Regions from separate parts of the Homo sapiens genome. Here region 2 is linked to region 1. The links are contacts of gene promoters, found by promoter capture Hi-C in human tissues and cell types (Jung and others, 2019). All regions are on one chromosome and are shown on one strand. The core of a region is centred on a gene start or on the middle of the fragment in contact, and the rest is flanking DNA. Distances in the headings are between cores, read along the strand shown. Region 1 holds the start of COMMD4 (COMM domain containing 4). Region 2 overlaps SIN3A (SIN3 transcription regulator family member A).

The links. Contacts are between HindIII fragments. The study calls those that stand out against the background at their distance.
Region 2: a contact is called between a fragment that was not itself captured here and the fragment with the promoter of COMMD4 in region 1, in 4 of the 25 tissues and cell types used here (H1 embryonic stem cells, adrenal gland, bladder and 1 more).

What each region holds. Positions count from the first base shown.
Region 1 is chr15:75,333,860-75,338,569 of GRCh38, forward strand. COMMD4 (COMM domain containing 4) reads left to right here and starts at 2,204. Exons shown (of 8, transcript NM_017828.5): 1 at 2,204-2,233; 2 at 4,203-4,274; 3 at 4,496-4,561. The coding sequence starts at 2,231. RefSeq lists enhancers at 2,038-2,087, 2,428-2,597. The HindIII fragment of the contact is 27,503 bases long and covers 1-4,710 here.
Region 2 is chr15:75,414,369-75,419,078 of GRCh38, forward strand. All of the region lies in intron 3 of SIN3A (SIN3 transcription regulator family member A), which reads right to left. Among named protein-coding and RNA genes, the nearest start is that of SIN3A, 35 kb to the right of the region's middle. The HindIII fragment of the contact is 5,110 bases long and covers 1-4,372 here.

The DNA.
Region 1 (4,710 bases), core at 954-3,453:
AACCACGGCTCTAAATAGTCAAATCATCTTTTTTTTTTTTTTTTTTTTGAGACGGAGTCTCACACTGTTGCCCAAGCTGACTGAAATGCAGCGGTGCAATCTCGGCTCACTGCAGCCTCCACCTCCCGCGTTCAAGCGATTCTCATGCCTCAGCCTCCTGACTGGCTGGGATTACAGGCACCCACTACCACACCCTGCTAATTTTTTTTGTTTTTTTTCAGTAGAGACAGGTTTTGCCATGTTAGCCAGGCCACCGCTCTCGAACTCCTGACCTCAGGTGATCTGCCTGCCTCGGCCTCCCAAAGTGCTAGGATTACAGGCATGAGCCACCGTGCCCAGCCTTTATTTATTTATTTATTTATTTATTTATTTATTTTTATTTTATTTTATTTTTCTGAGATGGTCTCCTTCTGTTGCTCAGGATGGATGGAGTACAGTGGTGCCATCATGGTTCACTGCAGCCTCCACCTCCCAGGCTCAAGAGATCCTCTGACCTCAGCCTCTTAGGTAGCTGGGACAACACGTGTGCACCAGGACAAGCGGGTAATTTTTTGTAGAGACTGGGGTCTCCCTATGTTGCACAAGCTGGTCTAGAACTCCTGGGCTCAAGCGATCCACCGGCCTTGGCCTACCAAAGTGCTATGATTAAAGGTCTTAACATTCTTAAAAAATTTTTTTGACATGGTTTAGGATAGTCTAGTAACTTAACGTACTGTTGTTTTCAACAGGCTAGTGGTTATGATTTGTAAAAGAACTCTTCAGAAATGAGCTCAATTTTACCATGAATTGGGGACACTTTACATTTCTATTTTATAGTGCAGTTTAATTGTCATGGGCTCTGTCTTTTAAAAACCTGAAAGCCTGCAACAATAAAACCAGCTGCACCTGTTGCATGGGATAGGCATGGAATTGAGGAGAGAGCTCAAACTACAGTCAGCCCTCTGTATCCTGAGGTTCTGGATCCTTGGATTTAACCAACTGTGCATCGAAAATATTTGGAAAAAGTAAAACAATAAAAAAACACAGGTCGGGTGCAGTGGCGGGCGCCTGTAGTCCCAGCTACTCGGGAGGCTGAGGCAGGAGAATGGCGTGAACCCGGGTGGCAGAGCTGGCAGCGAGTGGAGATCGCGCCACTGCACTCCAGCCTGGGCAACAGAGCAAGACTCCGTCTCAAAAAAAAAAATTAAAAAACTTTATAACAGCTATTTACAAAGCATTTACGTTGTATTAGGTATTATAGTAATCTAGAGATGATTTAAAGTATACGGAAGGATGTGCACAGGTTATTTGCAAATACTATGCCATATTATATCAGGGACTTGAGTATCTGTGAATTTTGGTATCTCTGGGGTCCTGGAACCAACATCCTGAGGTTACCAAAGGACGACTGTATTCAATTTTGTCTCTGGTTATTAGTCTATTCTCAAATGTATTTTTCTTGTTGTTTTGTCTTTTTGTTTTTGCCTCTTCAAGTCAATGTCGGAAACTTAGTTGTTCTAGACTACCCATTAGCTCAGAGCTACCAGTAATCAGACTACCACTGCAACCTAAGCAACCGATTTTTCTTCCCCATCAGACTGGCAAAAATTAAGATAAGCATCTATTGATGTTGAAGCTGTAGGGAGTTTTCCTGAGCAAGTAATTATGACAGCCCTTTTTGCTAGGCACCTAGATGATTCATCAAAATGAAATAAAATACCCATGCACTTGAAGAAGTTATCTGGTTTATTTCCTTACCTGGGTGCTGGTTATGTGAGGTGTACAGTTGATGAAAACTTATTAAGCTTTATAATAGGTACAATTTTCTGTATGTGTAGTAGACGTCAATAGTTTTTAAAATGTCTTTTGCCACAGCCCGCAGCTGTGAATAATGCTATTCGCTTAACAGTGGAAAACGTGTCAATGACCTGAAACACCCTGGCTCCCGGGATCCTACCCCCTTAAGTTAAACAAATGAAATAACTTCCACTGTCTTTCCTAATGTCTTAATTCGGTCCTCAGTTAAACTGGCGGTTGGCGCCAGTTTTTTCCAGGGAAGGATTCTGGGAGACGGAGGAGGAGACGCCAGCATTTCGCCCCCTGCACCTCCAGCGGGCTGCGGTCCGCTCCCGGCCTCACTCGAGCAGGCCCCGCCCTCCCAGAGGCAGTTAGTCCAAGTCACGTGATCGTCGACTCAGCTGACCCTGCGGGACCGGAAAAAGAAATTCCCGGGCCCTGGCTTCTTGGCGCGATGGTGAGGCACTAGGGGCGAAGCGAGGCTTGGGCTGCTGGAGCGGGAATGAGGGGGCGCCAAGTGGCTCCGGAAACTGGGGGAGGTTGTACTGGCCTCTCCGCAAACACAGTGTGTGCGGGCGTGAGGGCTGTGAGTCTGGTAGGGAAAAGTCCACCACTCTCCCGCTCCCGAGACGGGGGCGGGGGTACGGGGCGGGTAAGACAGAGCAGGCCGGCCGGCTTAGAGTCCCGGTGCTTCCCTGGCGGAAGGAAGGGCCCCTGCCTCCCGGGGCAGGAACTAGGGCTTGTCTGGAGCTGGGAGTCCTTTCAGGTCTTCCCCATCCCCAAGAGGACCTCCCAAGGATACCCCCTTCCCCAGCCCTGCCGTGGGGCTTGTACAAGAAGGTGCTTAGAATCAGGCTCACTCTTCCACACTGTTAGGAAGCCCCTCCGCTCTTTCCAGAGCCAGAAAGTAGTAGTTTTGGGGTTGAGACTTATCCATCCATCCATCCAATCCATCCATCCGTACGTTCTAAGCGCCTGGTCTATACCATGAAGTGTGCTAGGCACTGGGAGGACTTGAGCTGCCAAGGGAAGGGGAAATCGGAGGCTTGAATTGGAGTCATAGCTAAGGCTCCAGGGGCAGAGACCTAACTGCGCCTTGTGTGTAGTGCTAAGGGGGCTTCCTAAGGATGCCATCAAACTTAAAGGCGGATGGATGGCAGGAGCTGGCTGGCTGAAGTACAGTTTGTGTACCAGGGGTAGGGAGGCAAGGGTGGGAGACGTGTGTCTTCAGACAGGGAACAGCATGTGCAGAGACTTCAGGTTAGAGAGAGTATGGCTCCCCAGGAATGGATGCATTTCCCATAGCTGGGAGAGTATCATCTGCAGGTTAGGGAAAGATGAGGCTGGACAAGTAGAGAACAAATCTTCCTGGCTCTTGGATCACCACAATCAAGATAATGAACGTATCCACTGGCCTCCATAATTTCCTTGTGTGAGGGGCTATTTTAAGAAGTATAATCAAGAAAGGCTGTTCTGGCTGGGTGCGGTGGCTCATGCCTGTAATCCTAGCACTTTGGGAGAGTGAAGAGGGTGGATCACCTGAGGTCAGGAGTTCGAGACCAGCATGGCCATGGCACTCCAGCCTGGGCAACAGAGGGAGACTCTGTCTTATTTTTTTATTTTTTAAAAAAAGAAGGGCTGGTCTGATGTGTCACTTAAAGGATAGCAAGCCACTGGCCAGGCGCCGTGGCTCACGCCTGTAATCCCAGCACTTTGGGAGGCTGAGGGGGACGGATCACTTGAGGTCAGGAGTTCAAGACCAGCCTGGCTAACATAGTGAAACTCTGTCTCTACTAAAAATACAAAATTAGCCGAGTGTGGTGGCACATGCCTGTAATCCCAGCTACTTGGGAGGCTGAGGCAGGAGAATCACTTGAACCTGGGAAGCGGAGGTTGCAGTGAGCCGAGGTCGCGCCATTGCACTCCAGCCTGGGGAACAAGAGTGAAACTGTCTCAAAAAAAAAAAAAAAAGGATAGCAAGCCACACAGAGAGTGCAGCAGGCATGGAGGCGGGAGCAAGGCTGGTGTGCCCCAGCAGCAGCAGGGAAGCTGGAGTGGCTGGAGTTGTGTGGGTATGGGGAAGAGGGGAGAGAGTTCACTCGTCTCTGTGAGGCCCAGGACTTTGTTTTATCCCATGCTGTACCCCCAGCACTTAGAGTGGGAGCTAGCACAGAGAAGGTGCTTAATTGATGTTTGCTGAGCAGATGAATGCCTGGAGTAGACCTCAGAGCAGGGTTTGGTGGCAGGGTGGGTCAGGGAGAGAGTTTACTCAACAGCCTGGTGATAGGGGAGAACAAGAGGCCAGAGGGTATCCATCTATGTCGGGGACCAGGGGTCCCTGGTGGGCAGCAGTGTGGGAGACACACGGATCCTGGCCACACCTCAGGCCTCCCTCCAGCCTGATTACCTGCCTCCCTCCCTTGCAGAGGTTCCGGTTCTGTGGTGATCTGGACTGTCCCGACTGGGTCCTGGCAGAAATCAGCACGCTGGCCAAGATGGTTGAGTGCACAGGGTCTAGTCTGGGTGGAGGAGGGGTGTTGGGGGTGGGGATTGTGGGTGTAGAGGATGGTGAGGTTTCTCTGGGGCTAGGGCCTCAGTGCTCTCAGCCTGTGCTACCATGCTTTGTGACCTTGATCAGTGGCTGGCCTGCTCTGAGCCAGTCCCCAGGAAGGAGGGGTGAGGTTTGCCAGCCTGGCTGATGTAAGGACTTCCCTTCCAGTCCTCTGTGAAGTTGCGGCTGCTCTGCAGCCAGGTACTAAAGGAGCTGCTGGGACAGGGGATTGATGTGAGTACAAGATCCAGCACCCCATTGTCCCATGACCTTATGACCACCACTGCCCTGAAACTCTGCACTAGGCCCAGGGAGACGGGTGAGCCAGCCTCTCAACCTCTCTGGGCACCTCCCTTCCTTCTTTCCAGCCTGTCTGTTCCTTA
Region 2 (4,710 bases), core at 568-3,067, 80 kb after region 1:
AAAAAACAAAAACAAATTATTTATGCCTAAGTATGCTTAATGCAGTAAATGAAGTAAAAATATATTAAATATATACTTAAAAGTTAGTATGGATACCAATAATAAACTCAAGCTTAAAATAATAATCAACTCATAAAATCTGTAGCCTTGCCTTGGAAAATTTTGAACAGAATGATCAGTGAAGAATAATTACAATGATATATCATTTATTAATTCATTTCACAAGTATCTACTAAACTGCAACATACCAGGCCCAATGTGAGTACCAAGGATTCAATGACAAATAATTTGTAGCCCCTCGTCTATAGACATTTGTTTGTATGTAGTCAGGAATCATAACACAGTGGGTAACCCGGTAATCACTCCATGCCTGGAGATGACATGGGAAGGACACGTCTTCTCCACCAAAAAAAGTGAGGCTTCCCCAGGAGGTAATGTATAAACTGAGACCTAAAGATGACTATAAGCTAGCAAAAGTGAAGACCAGTGAAGAAAATCAAAAGCGGCAGCACGGGTAAAATCCTAGACAGGATACGATATGGGATATTTAGAAATCTGAAAACAGTTTAGTTTGGCTGGAGGATCTGTAGTGAAGAGGAAGGAAAAGTAACAAAATGAGACAGAAAAAAAAGCAGGATCTAGATTCTGAAAGGATTTGTAAATCTTGTGAAAAAGCAATTTAGATTTTTATCATCTGCATTTTCGTGTACGCAATTTGACTGCAGTGTTGAGAAAAAATTGGCACAAGAGCAGAAAAGATTGAAAGGAGGTAGGAAGACCAGGTATGCTACAGGAATAACTGGACAACTCATGTGAAAACAGTGGCTTGAATTATAGTACTGGCCCAGAACAACAGAGAGAACTGCATAGATAAAAAAGCTTTTTGGGTAGTAGAAGTGACAGGATTGGGGAACTGACTGAATAGAGGAGCTAAGGGAGAGCCAGCATTCAAAAGTGATCCGCCACGGAGCACTGAGGAAGAACAGTCAAGAGTGACTCTCGGACCGATCAAAGCCCACATGCCACTGCATCCCGCACTCAGCGCTTACATCCTTCCACATCACCACCACACCCAAGAGAAAGCCTGAAGGGGATGCTAAAGGAGATAGAGCCAAGGTGAAGAACAACCCAGAGAAGATCCGCAAGGTTGTATGCTAAACCTGCTCCTCCAAAGCCAGAGCCCAACCCTAAAAAGGATGCAGGCTGGGCGCAGTGGCTGACACCTGCAATCCCAGCACTTTCAGAGGCAGAGGTGGGAGGATCATCTGAGGTCAGGAGTTCGAGACCAGCCTGACCAACACGGAGAAACCCATCTCTACTAAAAATACAAAAATTAGCCAGGCATGGTGGCGCATGTCTGTAATGCCAGCTACTCGGGAGGCTGAGGCAGGGGAATCACTTGAACCCAGGAGGCGGAGGTTGCGGTGAGTCGAGATCATGCCATTGCACACCAGCCTGGGCAACAAGAGTGAAACTCGGTCTCAGGAAAAAAAAAAAAAAAAAAAAAGTCCCCTGCAAAGGAGAGAGAGGAGGTACCCAAAGGGAAAAAGGAAAATGCTGACACTGGCAGGGAGGGGAATAACCTTGCAGGAAATGGAGATGCCAAAACAGACCAGGCACAGAAAGCTGAAGGTGCTAGAGATGCCAAGTGAAACATGTGCATTTTTGGTAACTGTGTACTTCTGGTGACTGTAAAGTTTGAACTATAAAGTTATGAAGTTTGTAAATTTTGAAATACCATTGTTTAAATCAAGCTTTATAAAAATGCAGAATTTTGTTTTGCTTTTTCTAAAGCAGTGTTGTTATCGCACACAGAACACTTCATTGTTGTTTTGGTGGGAAGGATCACAGGTCACTAATAGAATGTCTTTGAAGCTGGACTGACGTGGGGAAAACACCTTTCCCTTCTAGTTTTGAGAGACTTCCTCTTGGCTTATAGAAGAAATTCCCTGACTTTATTTACTTATTTATTTAGAGACAGAGTTTTGCTATTGTTGCCCAGGCTGGAGTGCAGTGGTGCGATCTTGGCTCACTGTAACCTCTGCCTCCGGGGTTCAAGCGATTCTCTTGCCTCAGCCTCCTGAGTAGCTGGGGTTACAGGCACCCGCCAGCATGCCTGGCTAATTTTTGTATTTTTAGTACAGACAGGATTTCACCACATTGGCCAGGCTGGTCTCAAACTCCTGACCACAAGTGATCTGCCAGCCTCAGCCTCCCAAAGTCCTGGGATTACAGGCGTGAGCCACCACACCCAGCCTAGATTCCCTGACTTTTAACACACATGGCCACCTTGGCACAAACACCTTGTGGGATGGAAAAACAAATTCATTTTTACATCCTGTTCTCCCTCCCCACCTTCACAGACCTAACTCCCTTTTACCCAGACACCTGTTGGGACCTAACCCCCAATAACTGGTTACCAATATGTCAGGCAGTCAAACTTTCCAGTGATGCCACTGAAATGGCAGCCCTCAAAAGAGCAGTGGTTGCTTTTTCTAGACTGTGGATCTTCAGATAAGTCCTGCCATTTTCATTTCACTTCCTGAAAGTCAGGGTTGGCTTGTGAAAAGTTGTTAAACAACATGCTAAATGTGAAGTGTCAACCTTCACTCTAAACTTTCCCTGTTCAGAGCATCAAATGAGACTTCACTGGGTTTTATAGTGGCTTTTTTTTTTTTGGTAGCTCATTGTTAAGGATTGTCCATGTTCTGCCTGAAATACCATGACTGTTTTTGGAAAGTATCTTTAAAGCTGGATACAGTTTGGCTGGGGGAGAAAAAAAACTGACCTATCACAAAGAAGAACAGGTTGGAAAGGCTAAGCTATGAGTCTGATTTAGGACAGAGACACCCAAAAGAAATCCCCACTAGGTGTTTCCTATTTACTCTGAGATACGTTAAGTTTTATTTTGGTAGTTTAACTGAAGCCTAAATATTTAAAATTATACAAAATATCAGGTTTAAGAAATTTCAGAAATAAACATTTGATGTGATTTAAGCCAGTCTTTTTCTTTTTTTTTTTTTTGAGATGGGAGTCTCATTTTGTCTCCCAGGCTAGAGTGCAATGGCGCAATCTCGGGTCACTGCAACTTCTGCCTCCTGGGTTCAAGTGATATCTCCTGCCTCAGCCTCCTGAGTAGCTGGGATTCCAGGCGCATGTCACCACATCCAACTAATTTTTTTGTATTTTTAGTAGAGATGGGATTTCACCATGTTGGCCAGGCTGGTCTTGAACTCCTGACCTCAACTGATCCGCCTGCCTCAGCCTCCCAATGTGCTGGGATTACAGATGTGAGCCACCACACCTGGCCAGGCATAGATAGTCTTTTGATTTGTTGCAAAATGGAACATTTACATTCAAGTCAATCATTAACTGGTGCTGTGGTCTGAAATGTGTCCCACAAAATTCTTACATCGAAACTTAATCACCGATATGATGATATTAAGAAGTGAGGCCTTCAGAAAGTGATTGTGGAGCCCTCATGAATGGGATTAGGGACCTTATAAAAGGGCTGGAGTGAACCAGTGTTAGTCCCTTCGGCCCTTCTCCCTTCCAGTGTAAGGACACACATTCAGGGACCATCTCGAAAAACAGAGTTCAGGCCCTCACCAGACACCAAACCAACTGGCACCTGGATTTTATTTTATTATTTATTTTATTTATTATTATTATTATTTTTTTAGATGAAGTCTTGCTCTTGTCTCCCAGGCTGGAGTGCAAAGGCACGATCTCAGCTCAATACAACCTCCGCCTCCCGGGTTCAAGCGATTCTCCTGCCTCAGCCTCTTGAGTAACTGGGATTATAGGCGCCTGCCACCACGCCCAGCTAATTTTTGTATTTTTAGTAGAGATGGGGTGTCACCATGTTGGCCAGGCTGGTCTCAATCTCCTGACCTCGTGATCCGCCCGCCTCGGCCTCCCAACGTGCTGGGATTACAGGCGTAAGCCACTGCGTCTGGCCTATTTATTTATTTTGAGACATGGTCTCACTCTGTCACCCAGGCTGGAGTGCAGTGGCACAAATTCGGCTCACTGCAACTTCCACCTCCTGAGTTCAAGCGATTCTCGTGCCTCAGCCTCCAGAGTAACTGGGATTACAGGTGCATGCCATCATGCCTGGCTCATTTTTTTGTATCTTCGGTAGTTTTACCATGTTGGCCAGGCTGGTCTTGAACTCCTGACTTCAAATGATCTGCCCTCCTCAGCCTCCCAAAGTGCTGGGATTATAGGCGTGAGCCACCGCACCCGGCCAGCACCTTGATTTTAGATTTCCCAGCCCCCAGAACTTCTCCAGAACTGTGAGAAATAAACTGCTATTATTTAGATTATACAGTCTCAGGTATTTTGTTATAGCAGCACTAATGGATTGAGACAAATGGCCGCTTTTTTGTTTTTGTTTTTTTTGAGACAGAGTCTCGCTCTATCGCCCAGGCTGGAGTGCAGTGGCGCTTTCCCGGCTCACCGCAAGCTCTGCCTCCCGGGTTCACGCCATTCTCCTGCCTCAGCCTCCCAAGTAGCTGGGACTACAGGCGCCCGCCACCACGGCCGGCTAATTTTTTTTTCTATTTTTAGTAGAGACGGGATTTCACTGTGTTAGCCAGGATGGTCTCGATCTCCTGACCTCGTGATCTGCCCGCCTCGGCCTCTTAAAGTGCTAGGATTACAGGCGTGAGCCACCGCACCCGGCCCCGAGACAAATGGCTGTTTAAG